3 separate regions of the Homo sapiens genome follow, and regions 2 and 3 are each linked to region 1. Evidence: promoter capture Hi-C in 16 types of primary human blood cells and fetal thymus (Javierre and others, 2016). All regions are on one chromosome and are shown on one strand. The core of a region is centred on a gene start or on the middle of the fragment in contact, and the rest is flanking DNA. Distances in the headings are between cores, read along the strand shown.

Region 1 (4,964 bases), core at 1,655-4,154:
AGGGTCTCACTCTGTCACTCAGGCTGGACTGCAGTGGCATGATCACAGTTCACTGTGGCCTCAACCTCCCAGGCTCAAGTGATATTCCTGCCTCAGCCTCCCCAGTAGCTGGGACCACAAGTGTGTGCCATGATGTCTGGCTAATTTTTTTTATTTTTTGAAGAGACAGAGTCTCATCATGTTACCCAGGCTGGTCTCAAACTCCTGGGCTTCCCATCTCTGCCTCCCAAAGTGCTGGGATTGCAGGCATGAGCCACTGACCTGGCCCTAGAACATAACTTAAAATAAATGTGTATGTGTGTGTTTCAGTGTCTCTGTGTGTGTATAGTGTAGGTCAAACAATAATAAATAATTAAATAACAGTACCTCAGCCTATATTTTTTTGAAGGGGAGTGGTTCAGAGGAATCACCAATATAGTTATGGAATATTAGCAAAAGCCCTAATACAAATGATAATCAGAACCCCACAAGCTCAGTCTAAAATAGATATCAGAGTAGAATACAGAAGGGATTCAGTAAGCAATATAGAGCTAGGTCCATGAAAAGGCTCAGATTGAACTACTGCATGAAATTTTACATTCATGGAAACTCTTTAGGGTAAATACCTAAAATAGTAAGACTAAATATTGGTTAAAGCCAAGATCCTTTACCCAGCCTAAGTAAATGAAATGGAGAACACAAAATGAATTGGTACAATCTATGTTCCTCTGCTTTTTTTTTTGTTGTTGTTGTTGTTTGTTTGTTTGTTTGTTGTTGTTGAGACAGAGTCTCTGTTGCCCAGGCTGGAGTGTAGTGGCATGATCTTGGCTCACTGCAACCTCCACCCCCTCGGGGTTCAAGCAATTCTCCTGCCTCAGCCTCCCAAGTAGCTGGGACTATAGGCATGTGCTACTATGCCCGGCTAATTTTTGTATTTTTTGGTAGAGACGGGGTTTCATCATGTTGACTGGGCTGGTCTCGAACTCTCAACCTCAGGTGATCCACTTCCCTCGGCCTCCCAAAGTACTGGGATTACAGGCATGAGCCACCACACTCAGCTCTACCAACTTTTTATCAAGTGTTTTTGAGTGAACTATCTTATTGAATCTTCATAGTGATTTTTGGAGAAAGTTAATATTATTATCTTCATTCTTTTTTTTTTTTTTTGAGCGCAGTCTGGCTCTTTCGCCCAGCCTGGAGTGCAGTGATGCGATCTCGGCTCACTGCAAGCTTTGCCTCCCGGGTTCACACCATTCTCCTGCCTCAGCCTCCCGAGTAGCTGGGACTACAGGCGCCTACCACCATGCCCAGCTAATTTTTTTGTATTTTTAGTAGAGACGGGGTTTCACCATGTTAGCCAAGATGGTCTTGATCTCCTGACCTCGTGATCCGCCCGCCTCAGCCTCCCAAAGTGCTGGGATTACAGGCGTGAGCCACCGCGCCCGGCTTCTTCATTCTATTTTTGAGAAAATTGAGACTCATATAGCTCAAAATGCATTGCCAAAGATCACTCAGCCAGTAAGTAGAATGGGACTAAAATCCAAATGTTTTGGTTTGAAACTTCATGTTCTTTGTAGTGCACTATACAGCTATGCCTTATCTGTTCCTCTTTTTTAAAAAAGTATTTGTTATAGTTGACACATGATATCGTACACATTTATTGGGTACATAGTGCTATTTCAATACACACAATGTACAGTGATCAAATCAGAGTAATTCATATATTCCTCACCTTAAATATTTATCCTTTCTTTGTGTTGGGAACATTCAAACGCCCCTCTTCTAGCTATTTTAAAATATATAGTAAATTATTATTGACTACAGTCACCCTACAGTGCAATGGAACACTAGGACTTATTCCTCCTATCTAGCTGTAATTTGTGTCCTTTAACCACCCCCTACCCTTCCCAGCCTCTAGTGATTACTATTTTATTCTCTAGCTCCATGAGATCAACTTTTTTAGCTTCTGCATATGAGCGAGAACATTTGGTATTTATCTTCCTGTTCCTGGCTTGTTTCACTAACATAATGTCCTTCAGGTTCATCCACCTTGCTGCAAATGACAAGGTTTCATTCTTTATGTGAATTTAAGGGTTATTTTCCTTAAGCTAGAATAAAGTATTGCCTTATATACACAATGGAGAAGGGATTTATTTGTACAGATTATTTATTGATTATTTCTTTAAGGGATTTATTTGTAAAGACCAAATATGTTTGGATTTTCAGATTGTCTAGCAATATTATCCTCCTGGATAACCCTGATACCAATCAATTAACCGTCTTCTAACTCTCCTCCTTCCCTCCCTTACCTTTTCTACACCTATTACCTAAGCATTTGAGGTACGCCAAAGGAAATAAAAAAGTACTCCTCCAGGAAGCAGAGTACAGACAAAAGAGGTAATGAATACTGTAATGATCTAAGTGCTATATATTCCTATGTGCAAACTGCTATGGAACTGTCACGTACTAGATGCTATGAAGTTAATAAAAGAATTGAGTAAAGGTCCCTGTCTTTGATAACTTATATTCTATTTGGAGAAACATGGGGGGTAAATCTTGGCTAATAACTAGCAAATATAACATGTTAGGCCAAGGAGTAGAGATAATTAAGAGAACTAGTCGAGAAGGCATTGGCTATTAAAAAATGGACAGGATTTATGCAAACTCTCATGAAAGGTGGGACTTCATGATCCTACAGTCAATCTAGCTGTTCTGGGCTTTGAACCCCAGCGACCCCATCCAGAAGAAACCAGGAGAAGCACAAACTGGCGCTAGGTTCGCTACCATCCACCTGACCCTTGAGCCCGGGGAAACCCACGGGTGCAGCAAGCCGGGAAAGCTGCAGACGAGGCAGGCGGAAGAGGCGGGACTTCGCGGGTGACGTCATCGGGGCGCCGGAGGCCCGGGGCGCCTGGGAATTTGAAGCAAACAGGCAGCGCGCGACAATGGCGGTCGCTCGTGCAGCTTTGGGGCCATTGGTGACGGGTCTGTACGACGTGCAGGCTTTCAAGTTTGGGGACTTCGTGCTGAAGAGCGGGCTTTCCTCCCCCATCTACATCGATCTGCGGGGCATCGTGTCTCGACCGCGTCTTCTGAGTCAGGTGCTGGCCTAGGAAGGGAAAGGACAGGGCTTGGTGGCGGGAAGGAGGACAAGGAAATGGAAGAGGGTGACAGGAGTTGGGCCGTGAGTGAGAGCAAAAGAGCCAAGCAGGCAGACCGACCCTACTCTTGGTTTGGGGAGTAAGCATGAGAAGCACAGAGGCCAGGGGTTGGGCTCCTCGAGAGTCGTCTGTTCTTTCACCCACACGCTTAGACACGTGTTTTGCAAAAGTCGGGAAACCCAGTTTGGAACGCTTTCTGGCACTGAAGCACACTTGAATGAATTCTGTATATTTAACTCTTTAAGAAAATTAGACTTGCGGCCGGGCGTGGTGCCTCATGAGAGTAATACCAGCACTTTGGGATGCCTAAGTGGGCAGATCACCTGAGCCCCAGGAGTTCGAGACCAGCCTGGGCAACATGACGAGACCCCGTCTCTACAAAAAATTAGCTGGGTGTGGTGGCGCACGCCTGGGACGCTGAGGTGGGAGGATCACCTGAGCCTGGGAGGTCAAGGCTGCAATGAGCTGTCATTGCGCCACTGCACTCCAGCCTGGGCGACAAGTGAGACCCTGCCCTCAAAAAACAAACAAATAGACCGGGAAAACGTGGGTAGGCAGAGAATTCAGTAGCTGGGAAATTACTGGTGAGAAAAGGAAAATAGAACAACCAGAACTCTGTGATGTATACAAAATTTATCAGAGCCCAGAGAGACTTCAACCATACTCCCCTATGCAGCCCCGGGACAATTATTTAAAGGAATTTTGTCCCTGACTAGCTGCCTCTCCCATTATCTTAATGTACCTGGAATGTGTGATACAAAGAACAATGTATAGCTAATCAATCGCTTGTGTTATTATTTTATTTATTTATTTTTTAGATGGGATCTCTCTTACGTCACCCAGGCTGGAGTGCAGCTCTGTGATCATAGCTCACTGCAGCCTGGAACTCCTGGGCTTAAGAGATCTTCTTGCCTCGGGTGAGCACAGGGGCTCATGCCTGTAGTCCCAACTTTGGGAGGCTTTCTTTGGGAGGCTGAGGCGGGTGGATCACTTAAGGTCTGGAGTTCGAGACCAGCCTGGCCAACATGGTGAAACCCTGTCTCTACTGAAAATGCAAAAATTAGCTGGGCATGGTGGTGCACACCTGTAATCCCAGCTACTCAGGAGGCTGAGGCAGAAGAATCAGGAGGTTGCAGTTAGCCGAAATTGAGCCACTGCACTCCAGCCTGGGCAACAGAGGGAGACTGTCTCAGAAAAAAAAAAAAAAAAGAGATCCTCTTACCTCAACCTCTGAGTAGCTGGAACTACAGGCATGTGCCATCATGCCCACCAAATTAAAAATTTTTTTTTTTTGTAGAGAGGAGGTCTCACCATACTGCCCAGGCTCGTCTCAAACTCCTGGCCTCAAAAGATCCTCTTGCCTTGGCGGCTTCCCAAGTAGCTGGGACTACAAATGCCTGGTGCCACCCCCGGGCTACCTCCTGTTATTTCAATGCAAATTCTTGGTGAATATAGGAACTGCCCCTTCTTTTGCTTTAAAAATCCACTTGTAACTACTGTAATCGAAGCCTATAGTCAGGGCAACTACTCATATTAATTTTGCCTCAGCCTCTTCCTGTTAGGTCCACACTTGGAAGGGCTGTTTGGAAAGGGGAGTTGAATTTTGCACTGTGCGGCCAGAAGCAATAATTAAGACTAGAAGGTGGACATATTGGGAAAGCAGGTTTTTAGTCAATATAAGGAAAATTTTTGTACAAATTAGAGGTTTCTAATACAGTGCTTCTCAACTTTGAGTATATATGAATTACCTGGGAATTTTGTTAAAATGCAGAATCCATTTCTGTAGCTCTGAGACTAGACCTGAGGTTGTGCATTTCTAACAAA
Region 2 (4,964 bases), core at 1,766-4,265, 870 kb after region 1:
AAGTAAATAAATAAACCTACCGTACAACCCAGCAATCCCACTACTGAGTATCTATCTAAAGGGAAAGAAATCAACATATCAAAAGGATACCTGCTCTCACATGTTTACTGAAGGACTATCACAATAGCATAAATATGGAACCAGCCTGTGTCCATGAACAGATGAATGGGTAAAGAATTTGTGGTATGTAGGCCAGGCACGGTGGTTCACGCCTGTAATCCCAGCACTTTGGGCAGCTGAGGCTGGTGGATCACCTGAGGTCAGGAGTTCGAGACCAGCCTGGCCAACAGGGCGAAACCCCATCTCTATTAAAAATACAAAAATTAGCTGGGCATGGTGGCGCACACCTGTAATCCCAGCTACTCTGGAGGCTGAGGCGGGAGAATTGCTTGAACCTGGGAGGCGGAGGTTGCAGTAAGCTGAGATCGTACCACTCCAGCCTGGGTGACAGAGTGAGACTCCATCTCAAAAAAAAAAAAAAAACAAAGACAAATAATGGAAAGCCAGGTGTGGTCATGCACACCTGTAGTCCCAGCTACTTGGGAAGCTGAGATGGGGGGAATCACTTATGCCCAGGAGTTTGAGGGTAGCCTGGGCAACATAGAAGACCTGTCTCTTTAAATAAATACATAAATATAAAAGTGGAAAAAAGCTTGTGGGATAAAAATATAAAAAACATGATTCTAAGTGAAAGATGCAAGACGCAAAAATGTCACATACTGTATGCTTCCATTTATGTGAAATGTCCAGAATAGGCAAATCCATCGAGATAGAAAGTAGATGAGTGGTTGCTAGGGATAGGAGAAAGGAGGAATGGGAAATGACTGCTAATGAGTATGGGGTTTTCTGGGGGTGGGGGTAATAAAAATGTTCTAAAATTCGATAATAGTGATGGTTGTACAATCTTGTAAGTATATGAAAACTCGATTGTATACTTTAAATGGGTGAATTTATGGTGGATGAATTATATTGTGATAATGCTATTTTTTAAAAAACAAATTCTCTAGCTGCATGGAGAATTAATTTTAGTGGGAGAAAAAGAGGAAGCGGGGCGACTAGGTAGGAGGATATTATAGGGAATGAGGGCAGAGATCATAGCGGCTTGGACTAGAGTGGTGGCAGTGGGGATAGAGAGAAGTAAATGGATCCAAGCTGTGTCTGGGATGGGGCTACAGTACTGCAAATGGACTGGATTTGCAATAGTGAAACTACCTTTGCAAAATTATAACTAAGGAAATTATGACAGTGAAAGAAATCAGACCTGACTCCATCTTGCTTCTAGCCTTTAAGCTGTCCTTGTTCATTCCTGGACACAGGCCAAACTAACTTTAGGAAGGAATTCAGTTCATGGTTTTACTCTGAAACAAAATTGATAATCGCCCTTTCCCGAAAAGACCCCTCTTTTAGCCTGGGGACCAGTCTGCCTTTGCAGGACTAACAAATTAGCTATAAGATTAGAAATTACTGGCCAGGTGTGGTGGCTCACTTCTGTAATCCCAGCACTTTGGGAGGCTGAGGCGGGCGGGTCACCTGAGGTCGCGAGTTCAAGACCAGCCTGACCAACATGGTGAAACCCTGTCTCTACTAAAAATACAAAATTATCCAGGTGTGGTGGCTCATGCCTGTAATCCCAGCTACTCGGGAGGCTGAGGCAGGAGAATCGCTTGGACCCGGGAGAGGCCAAGGAGGGCGGATCATTTGAGCTCAGGAGTTTGAGACCACACTGGGCAACTGGCAAAACTCGTCTCTAGTAAAAAAACAAAAATGAGCTGAGTGTGGTGGCACATGCCTGCAGTCCCAGCTACTTGGGAGGCTGAGGTGGGAGGACTGCTTGAGCCCGGGAGGTTGAGGCTGCAGTGAACTGAGATCACACCAGTGTATTTCAGTCTGGATGACAGAACAAGACTCTGTCTCAAAAAAAAAAAAAAAAATACAGTCTAGAGTACTCAGGTTTGAGTGTCAGCACATTTGGTGTAAGAAACTCAGCAAGATAAACTAAATTATTATCAGAAGGTTATAATGCTTGTGGAGTCATGGCCATGGGAGTTGGTAGGATAGATGTTTTGTTTTGCTTTGTTTTAAAGCCAAAACTTTTTACCAAAATGTTTTACAATAGGATCTGAGTTTGACTGTTCCATTCAGCATCCAAAGAGAGAGGAGGACATATTGTTTGAATAAGGAAGGTAAAGAAATGTACTTTTTTGAAAGCCATCAAAGAAGGATGTGTACTTCATCTCTGTGCCTTCCCTACCAGTCTAGCTGGGTAAGAGATGAGGGTGCCCTGCCCATGGAGAGAAGCTGCGTATGCATAGTGGTCAAGATCATGGTCTCTTCTATCAGACTGACACGCAGATTCCACTCCCTGTGACCTTAGGCAAGTTACCTAACCTCTTTGTGCCTGTTTCATCACCTATAAAATAGGAGTAACTGTGTTACTCCCCAAATTTCTACAATGAAGGCCTAACTTCTATGCAATGGTATTTGGAGATAGGGCCTTTGGGAGACACTTACGTTTTGATGAGGTCCTAATGATTGGATTAGTGCCCTTGTAAGAAGAGACACCAGAAAGCTAGCATGTACCATGCCCCAGCCCTCACCACCCCTGCCATGTGAGGGCACTTGGAGAAGACAGCTACCTGCAACCTAGGAAAAGAGCCGCCATCAGAAACTGACCATGCTGGTATCTTGACCTTGGACTATCAGCCGCCAGAACTGTGAAAAAATAAATTGCTGTTGTTTAAGCCACCTAGTCTATGGTATTTTGCTATGGCAGCCAAGCCAGTCTCTCTCTTTGAGGGGTTGTCAGCATTAAATGAAACGACTCATGTCATTTAAGGCACTTAGACTCTGGTCTGACGCAGGATGAGCTAAGTGTTCAGCAACTGTTAGCCATTGTTTAGAAGGGTAGGGCTACCTGCTAAGTAAAACGAATGTTGGTGTTTGGTGAGGGCACCCTTCTGCTAGGGACATCTCTGAAGACACATCAAACAACATATTTCTGAAGACATTCAACATATTTCTGTGGGAGAATGCCAGCTTTGTCTCCCAAATGCAATGGAGTTTTCAAGTTAGGAATTCTAATCAAAAGAGACCCATCAGAGTATGTACAATAAATGTAGAATTCTAAGAACATTACCTGAAATCACCCAGTTTGTGGGTGTCAGTGTGAAAATGTAGATACCTAAGGCCATGTCTGCTTCAGTGTCATCTCCTCCTAGAGACCTTCCCTGACCACTCTATACAGAGTAGCAGTTCCTACCCATTACACTCTATCCCTTTACTGTGCTTTAGTTTTCTTCATAGCACTTGACATTTTTTTTTTTTTTTTTTTTTTTTTTTTCTGAGAGGGAGTCTCCTCTGTTGCCCAGGCTGGAGTGTGATGGCATGATCTTGCCTCACTGCAACCTCTGCCTCCTGGGTTCAAGCCATTCTCCTGCCTCAGCCTCCCAAGTAGCTGGGATTACAGGCACCCGCCACCATGCCCGGCTAATTTTTGTATTTTTAGTAGAGGCGAGGTTTTGCCATGCTGGCCAGGCTGGTCTCGAACTCCTGACCTCAGGTGATCCACCCGCCTTGGCTTCCCAAAGGGCTGGGATTACAGGCCTGAGCCACTGCGCCTGGCCAACATTATATGCTTTGTTATGCATTGTCTGTCTCCTTACTAGAATGTAAGCTCTGTGAAGAAAGACTTGGTTCTTTTTTTTCCCCACTACAGTGTCCCCAATACTTGACCATTGCTTGACACATTTGTTGAATGAGTGGATGAATTTATTACAGTGGTTAAGAACATGAACTTTGGCACAAGCCTTCAAATCCTGGCTCTGCCACTTAGTGCACGTGATCCTGGGGAGGTTACTTGCCTTGGTAAGCCTCAGTTTTTTCATCTGTAAAATGGAAAAATAGGATGAAATAAACGTGTAGAAGGCCAGGCATGATGGCTCACACCTGTAATCCCAGCACTTTGGGAGGCCAAGGCAGGTAATTGTTTGAGCCTAGAAATTCAAGATCAGACTTGACAACATGGTGAAACCCCATCTCTACAAAATAATACAAAAATTATGGGGCCAGGAGTGGTGGCTCACACCTGTAATCCCAGCACTTTGAGAGGCCGAGAAGGGAGGATCACTTGAAGTCAGGAGTTTGAGACCAGCCTGGCCAACATGGTGAAACTCCATCTCTACTACAAATACAAAAACTAGCCGGGCATGGTGGTATGCACCTGTAGTCCCAGCTACTCGGGAGGCTGAGGCATGAGAATTGCTTCAACCCAGGAGAAGGAGGTTGCAGTGAGCTGAGATCGCACCACTGCACTCCAGCCTGGGTGACAGAGCGAAACTCCATCTCAAAAAAAAAAAAAAAAATTAGCTGGGTGAGGTGGCATGTGCCTGTAGTCCCAGCTACTAGGTAAGCTGAGGAGGGAGGATTGCTTGAGTCAGAGGTTGCAGTGAGCCAAGACTGTGCCATTGCACTTTAGCTAACCTGGGTGACAGAGCGAGACCCTGTCTCAAAAAAAAAAAAAAAAAAAAAAAAAAAAAAAAAAAAAAGAGTGCCTGATGTCTAGTGCACTAGAACAAATGCTGCCTGTTTTTATTTTCTCTCTCTAACCCTGACATGCAAGAAAGGGAAGTATGATTAGTTTCCTTGAAGCACAAGAACCCGCAGCTGGAATGAATGGGAGGATAGGCCACAGAGAAACTCGGGGCAGGGTAGCAGGGAGCAGGGGTGCGGGAAACAGTGCTAATCCCATGAGAGGAGGGCAACACAGGGAGGAATGCAGCCAGGAAAAAAGTTCCCACTGAGAATAAGGTTGTGAACCCAGAATTTCTTAAAAAAAGAAAACGAGACCGGGCGTTGCGGTTCACACCTGTAATCCCAGCACTTTGGGAGGCCAAGGTGAGTGGATCACCTGAGGTCCAGAGTTCGAGACCAGCCTGACGAACATGGGGAAACCCCCGTCTCTACTA
Region 3 (4,964 bases), core at 966-3,465, 640 kb after region 1:
ATGCCATGATGACAATAAAATTGAGTACAGCATACTATGTTTAAAAAAGACCTGGCCAGGCATGGTGGTTCACACCTGTAATCCCAGCACTTTGAGAGGCCAAGGCGGGCGGATCACTTGAGGCCAGGAGTTCGACACCAGCCTGGCATGGTGGGGTTTCACATAGTGATGGGGTTTCACCATGTTGGCGAGGCTGATCTTAAACTCCTGACCTCAGGTGATCCGCTCGCCTCGGCCTCCCAAAGTGCTGGGATTACAGGTGTGAGCCACCGCGCCCAGCTGTATATAGTTTTTTCTTAATAAAAGGTGAATAATATCCGGGTAGTTTTTAAGAGTATGGTTCTAGCCCAGAGTTCCCTCTTGGAAATCTGGTCTGGTGTGAGCTCAGCAAATCCAGAGAGAGCTTGGTTCATTTCCTGACATAGAGATGCTAATCCTCCCTCCAACCTGGCTCTAGAGTCGTCCAGTCTCCTAGGTTCCCCTAGACCTTCTGATAACTAGTCCTGACCTCCTTGCAACCTAAAACCAAAACAGATATTCTAGCTCCTCCATTCTGCAGGCCCACACTTTGCTGGCTGATACGTTTTCTTCAATGCCATCATGCCTGAATGAGAGTATTCTCTCACTGGAGAACTCCCTCACAGTTCACTTCAGGAACTGTGAATGGCAGAAGATCTCCCACCAGCCACAGATTTATGGAACCAATCCAGCCAACTAATTTGAGCTACAAATGAAGTATCTAAAGAAGAGCCAGCAAGCATGTCTTCCCCCCGACCATTAATTATAATCTTGTGTACTGCAATCCAGGCTGAATAATACGGCACCAATTCTCCTGGACCAGATAAACTGGGCAGTGAAGAAAACCACCAAGTCAATTAATTTCCATTCCAGCGTTTGCCAGGATAGTATTTACCCAACCTCGGGTAAGTGTTAATACTTCAAATTTTCTAAAATCGAAGCTCCATAGCCTAAGGAATCCCCACAGGCCAGACCCTTTCTCAAGGTCTGCTTCAGAGGTTCTCATACTCATTGGTGCACGTCTAAAATGTCACAGACCAAACTACAGACTAAAATCTAATTCTCAGTGACCCCAACCACGGCCCAGACCCACACTTACCAGATGTCATCTACTGAACAGCCCACACAGGTTCGGAACTAGGCCATCCCGGCCCATCTGGAATAACTCTTCAGTACTTAGGCCAATATTTATTAATTATACTACATCTGTCTATTCTATTATGCATTCCCTGCATCTTCTCTACTATTTAGCACTCCCTCTTGCTTCAAACGCGATCCTTTCTATTCACGGGAACTCCTATCTCCCTTCTTTCCTTCCCTGAGAAACGCTTCAGTTCTTTCCATAATGAAATACCTAACGTATCTGCACAATGAACACCCCCCAGAATCCTCAAGACTCCTCCACAGCCACCTCCCCGCATTCCTCCACCTCTCCGGCATCTTTCCTCCGGCCCCTCGCCCTGTTCGCACTCCCACTACGTTTCCTGCAAGCATTCCCTTTTCTCCAACCCCTGCCCTTCCCTTCTCCCAAAGAGCACACTCCGGCAGCAACAGTGACTGAGGCCTGCGGTGCATAAAGCACTGCACCAGGCACGGTGGACAGAGCCCTGGTGTCTCCCTAGCCTTTTCACACCCACACCCAGCACCCTCCGGCCTCCCCGTGCAAACATCCCACCTCCTCCCCTACCTCTGACACCCGCCTCCAGCCTCGGAGGCCGCCTTCTCGCCTCCGCCACCCCCGTCATTATCCCTCCTCAACCCCCCAACCCACCCTCCGCGCCCTGCTTCCTCACGTCCCCCAGCCAGCCCCAGCGTTTCCCTCGGCCTCGGCTGGCCCCCTGGCCACCCCCAGCCTCGCCACGGCTCGCTCCCCCCGGGGTCAGGCCGTTACCGCCGCGCGCTCCCCCCGCGCGCCGCCCCCTCCCCCTCCCCCGCCCTCCCCCGGGCCCGGGCCTGCCAGGCCGAGCGCTTTACCGCGGGCGGGCGCCGAGTCGCGCGGTCACCGACTGCAGGCGGCGGCAGCTCCAACCTTTCTAGGGGCCTTGAGAGGAGGGGAAGGGGGGAGGGGGGAGAACTTTTGCTGTGGCAGCTTCGGCAACAGCTCCCACCCCTGCGCCTTTCTCCTCTTCCTCCCCCTCCTCCTCCTCCTCCTCTTCCTCCTTCTCTTCCTCCTCCCAGAGCAGTAGAGACGCAGACATGCCGCAGCTAGAGCGCCGCCGCGGTCGCCGCCACTGCCGGCCCGGTGCATTGTGGGAAGCCCCGCACACGGGAAGCGCTCCGCGGCGCCCGCCCTCGTCTGGCGCAGAGACCTGGCTGGAAAGACACAGCGTGGCTTCGATTCCGGCGCCTGCGTGTCACCAGCCCAGGGTGGCCGTGGAAGCTGGACCCGAGCCGCAGGCCCCCCAGGCTGGGCCTGGGAGGAAAGCGGTTTGAAAAAGATCGGAACTGAGGAACTCTCTTAGAGCGGGGGACTCCCTGCTCCTACAGCCTTAACCAATGCCCAGCGCTTGGAAAGTGGAGGACTCGGGGATTCGGGAGCGTTTCAGGCCTGGGGAAATGGAAGGGTCGGGGACCTAGGTGAAAGGTTATTTGCCAGAAATGTCTTGGCTTTTTCATTTATTCTGTCTTACCTAGCCCTTCGCCGCCACCTCCAGTCGTTGGCCTCTTACCACCTTCAAATGCCACCTTTTCCGGAAGATGTAGCCCTGCGCCCTTGAAACTGGCAAACCCTATTAGTGTCTGCAAGCTGAGATGCAGGGTGTGGGCATAGACACAGATCAAGAGATCCGGCCCTGGACCCTCTTGGGCAGAACCTTGCCCTTCTCATTTCACCTGAAGCCCAAACTTTGTATGGCAAAGACTTGGTAATGATCTCTATAGAGCTAGGATTACACAGTTGTCTCATCCTTTGGGGGCCCTTTAGCCAAACTGTGACCTCCTTAATGGTGCCTTCGTCAGCTAACATTAGGCGCCCTGAGGTGCTTCTGCATACTGCCATCGTTTACAATTACTCATCTTTGTGTACACACCCTAGCACAAGGTCAGCCATATAACATAAAAGATGCTCAGTGAATGTTGAGTAATTGTGAGCATCTGGAACTTGCCGTGGGATAAAACGCGTTCATTGGGATTTCTTCATAATAATATGAAGATTCCATTTAGCGCCTCTCTGCAATACTTAAACGTAACCTTTGAGGGGAGAGGGAAAAGAAAAGGCATGAAAATATCTATAGAGCCATTTCTGGTGTTCTCCTTCCCTTTTCCACACCCGCCTTCCCACCCCTTGCCAACTAAATGTTCATTTGAATAGTGCTTTTTGGCAAAATTCCAAACTCCTGCATTATGCACTTGTGATGACACTGAATTAGATTAGTGTCTGCAAGGTTAATGTTCCCTCAGGCATTAACCTTAGTAAATCGTGATGCCTGTTTAGAAATAGCTAAGGCCCAGAGGTTCAGCTTAATTTAGACACAGGTAACTAAGAGCAAGAGTAAACCACAGCTCCACAATCAACTCTCTCTGTGTGCTTTCTCCATTAAAAAATATAAATTTTAATAAGATGACCGCACATATTCTGAATGTTAATTGCAACAAAACAATGACACAAGTTAGAGCCAAGGGACAGTTATCTGGAGGACAGCCTTCTGGCAACTTCTAGCACCCGCAGTGGCATCAAATTCAGACGTCATAATGAAAAACACCTCTGGCAGCAAGAAAGCCGACTCTCAGTATTAGGCAGTGGGAAAACTAATAACTGAAAAGGGCTCAAGGCCTGGAGGTTACATCCAATGGGCTAGGATTGATTGGTTTGCTATTAGGAATAGATCTAGTTCTCTGCTCAGCAGCCTAACAAGCGATAGAGAAACAGCTGTCTAAAATGGGCAGAACGAAGAGCACTACAGGGATAGTAACAGCAAAAGCGATGGTGAGGAGCAAGCTTAGGTCCTTTATAAGTTAAACTGGAAAAACTTCTCAGCTTCAGGTTGGCTCTCCATGCTCCTCTTGCTCACTTCCCTAAACACCACCCGTAGGTACTCAGCCTACTTACTTTTCCTTTTTTTTTTTTTTAACTTTTTATTTTGAAATAATTATAGACTCACAAGAAGTTGCAAAAATAGTCCAGAGTCCCATGCTTTCCCCAATGGTGACATCTTACAAAGCTCTAGTAAGACATCAAAATCAGTGTCAACCTAAATAACAGAGAGGCTTTCTAAAAGAAAATAATGTTTATTTGGGAATAGAGCATTGCAATGAAAATATACACATCACAGTTAACCGCATATTCAGGGATGTAAAGGAAGACAAAGGTGTTTAAAGGAAAAAATGGAAAGGATTACATAATTGTTTTGAAATAATTATCCTTGACTACAAAGATCAATAACAAGGGTGACGCCAGTCCGAGGTTGGACAGGCATTTGCTGGGGAGATGTCCTTGCAGAAGTATTTTTTTATGTAAGGTTGTGATGGCCTTTGTGCAAGGTTGTGGGTTTTGCAGTCTTTTTTTGATAGTTTTTGTTATCAGGTATACAAATGTAAGAACCCTCTCTTCGTAGGCAGCCTTCCCTAGCTCTGTTTGTCAGGGTTTCTTAACATTAGTAACTCCATTTTGATTGTGACAACTTTCACACCAGGAAATCGACAACAGTACATTACTGTTTACTATAGACTTCAGAACTTATTACTTGCCATTTTCTTAACCTGTGTTCTGTTTTGTGTGTGTGTGTGTGTGTGTGTGTGTGTGTGTGTGGTTCAATGCAACTTTACCTCACTTACAGATCCTTGTAACCACTCCTATAATGAAGACATAGAACTGTTCCATCACCACAAAAGAACTCCCTCATACTACCTTTTGGTATTCACAAATCCCCTTCCGCACTGCAACCGCTCACCCAACTCCATGCCTGTCCTCTAGTAACCACTAAACTATTCTCCATCTCTATACTTTC

The links. Contacts are between HindIII fragments. The CHiCAGO score rates a contact against its expected background, and 5 or more counts as called.
Region 2: a fragment that was not itself captured here is called in contact with the fragment with the promoter of UMPS in region 1 in 1 of 17 cell types (fetal thymus); the score reaches 5.2 in fetal thymus.
Region 3: a contact is called between the fragment with the promoter of ZNF148 here and the fragment with the promoter of UMPS in region 1, in 1 of 17 cell types (activated CD4 T cells). The highest score is 6.9, in activated CD4 T cells.

The regions. Positions count from the first base shown.
Region 1 is chr3:124,727,548-124,732,511 of GRCh38, forward strand. UMPS (uridine monophosphate synthetase) reads left to right here and starts at 2,905. Exons shown (of 6, transcript NM_000373.4): 1 at 2,905-3,080. The coding sequence starts at 2,925. MIR544B (microRNA 544b) reads left to right here and starts at 4,892; the gene lies at 4,892-4,964. RefSeq lists enhancers at 2,563-3,162, 2,575-2,984. The HindIII fragment of the contact is 5,140 bases long and covers 1,208-4,964 here.
Region 2 is chr3:125,597,588-125,602,551 of GRCh38, forward strand. No RefSeq gene overlaps it. Among named protein-coding and RNA genes, the nearest start is that of OSBPL11, 4.6 kb to the left of the region's middle. The HindIII fragment of the contact is 4,730 bases long and covers 651-4,964 here.
Region 3 is chr3:125,373,110-125,378,073 of GRCh38, forward strand. It overlaps ZNF148 (zinc finger protein 148), which reads right to left and starts at 2,216. Exons shown (of 9, transcript NM_021964.3): 1 at 1,993-2,216. It overlaps LOC105374080 (a long non-coding RNA gene), which reads left to right and starts at 2,317. Exons shown (of 3, transcript XR_924427.3): 1 at 2,317-3,943. RefSeq lists a silencer at 1,951-2,000 and enhancers at 2,111-2,380, 2,491-2,540. The HindIII fragment of the contact is 7,036 bases long and covers 1-3,953 here.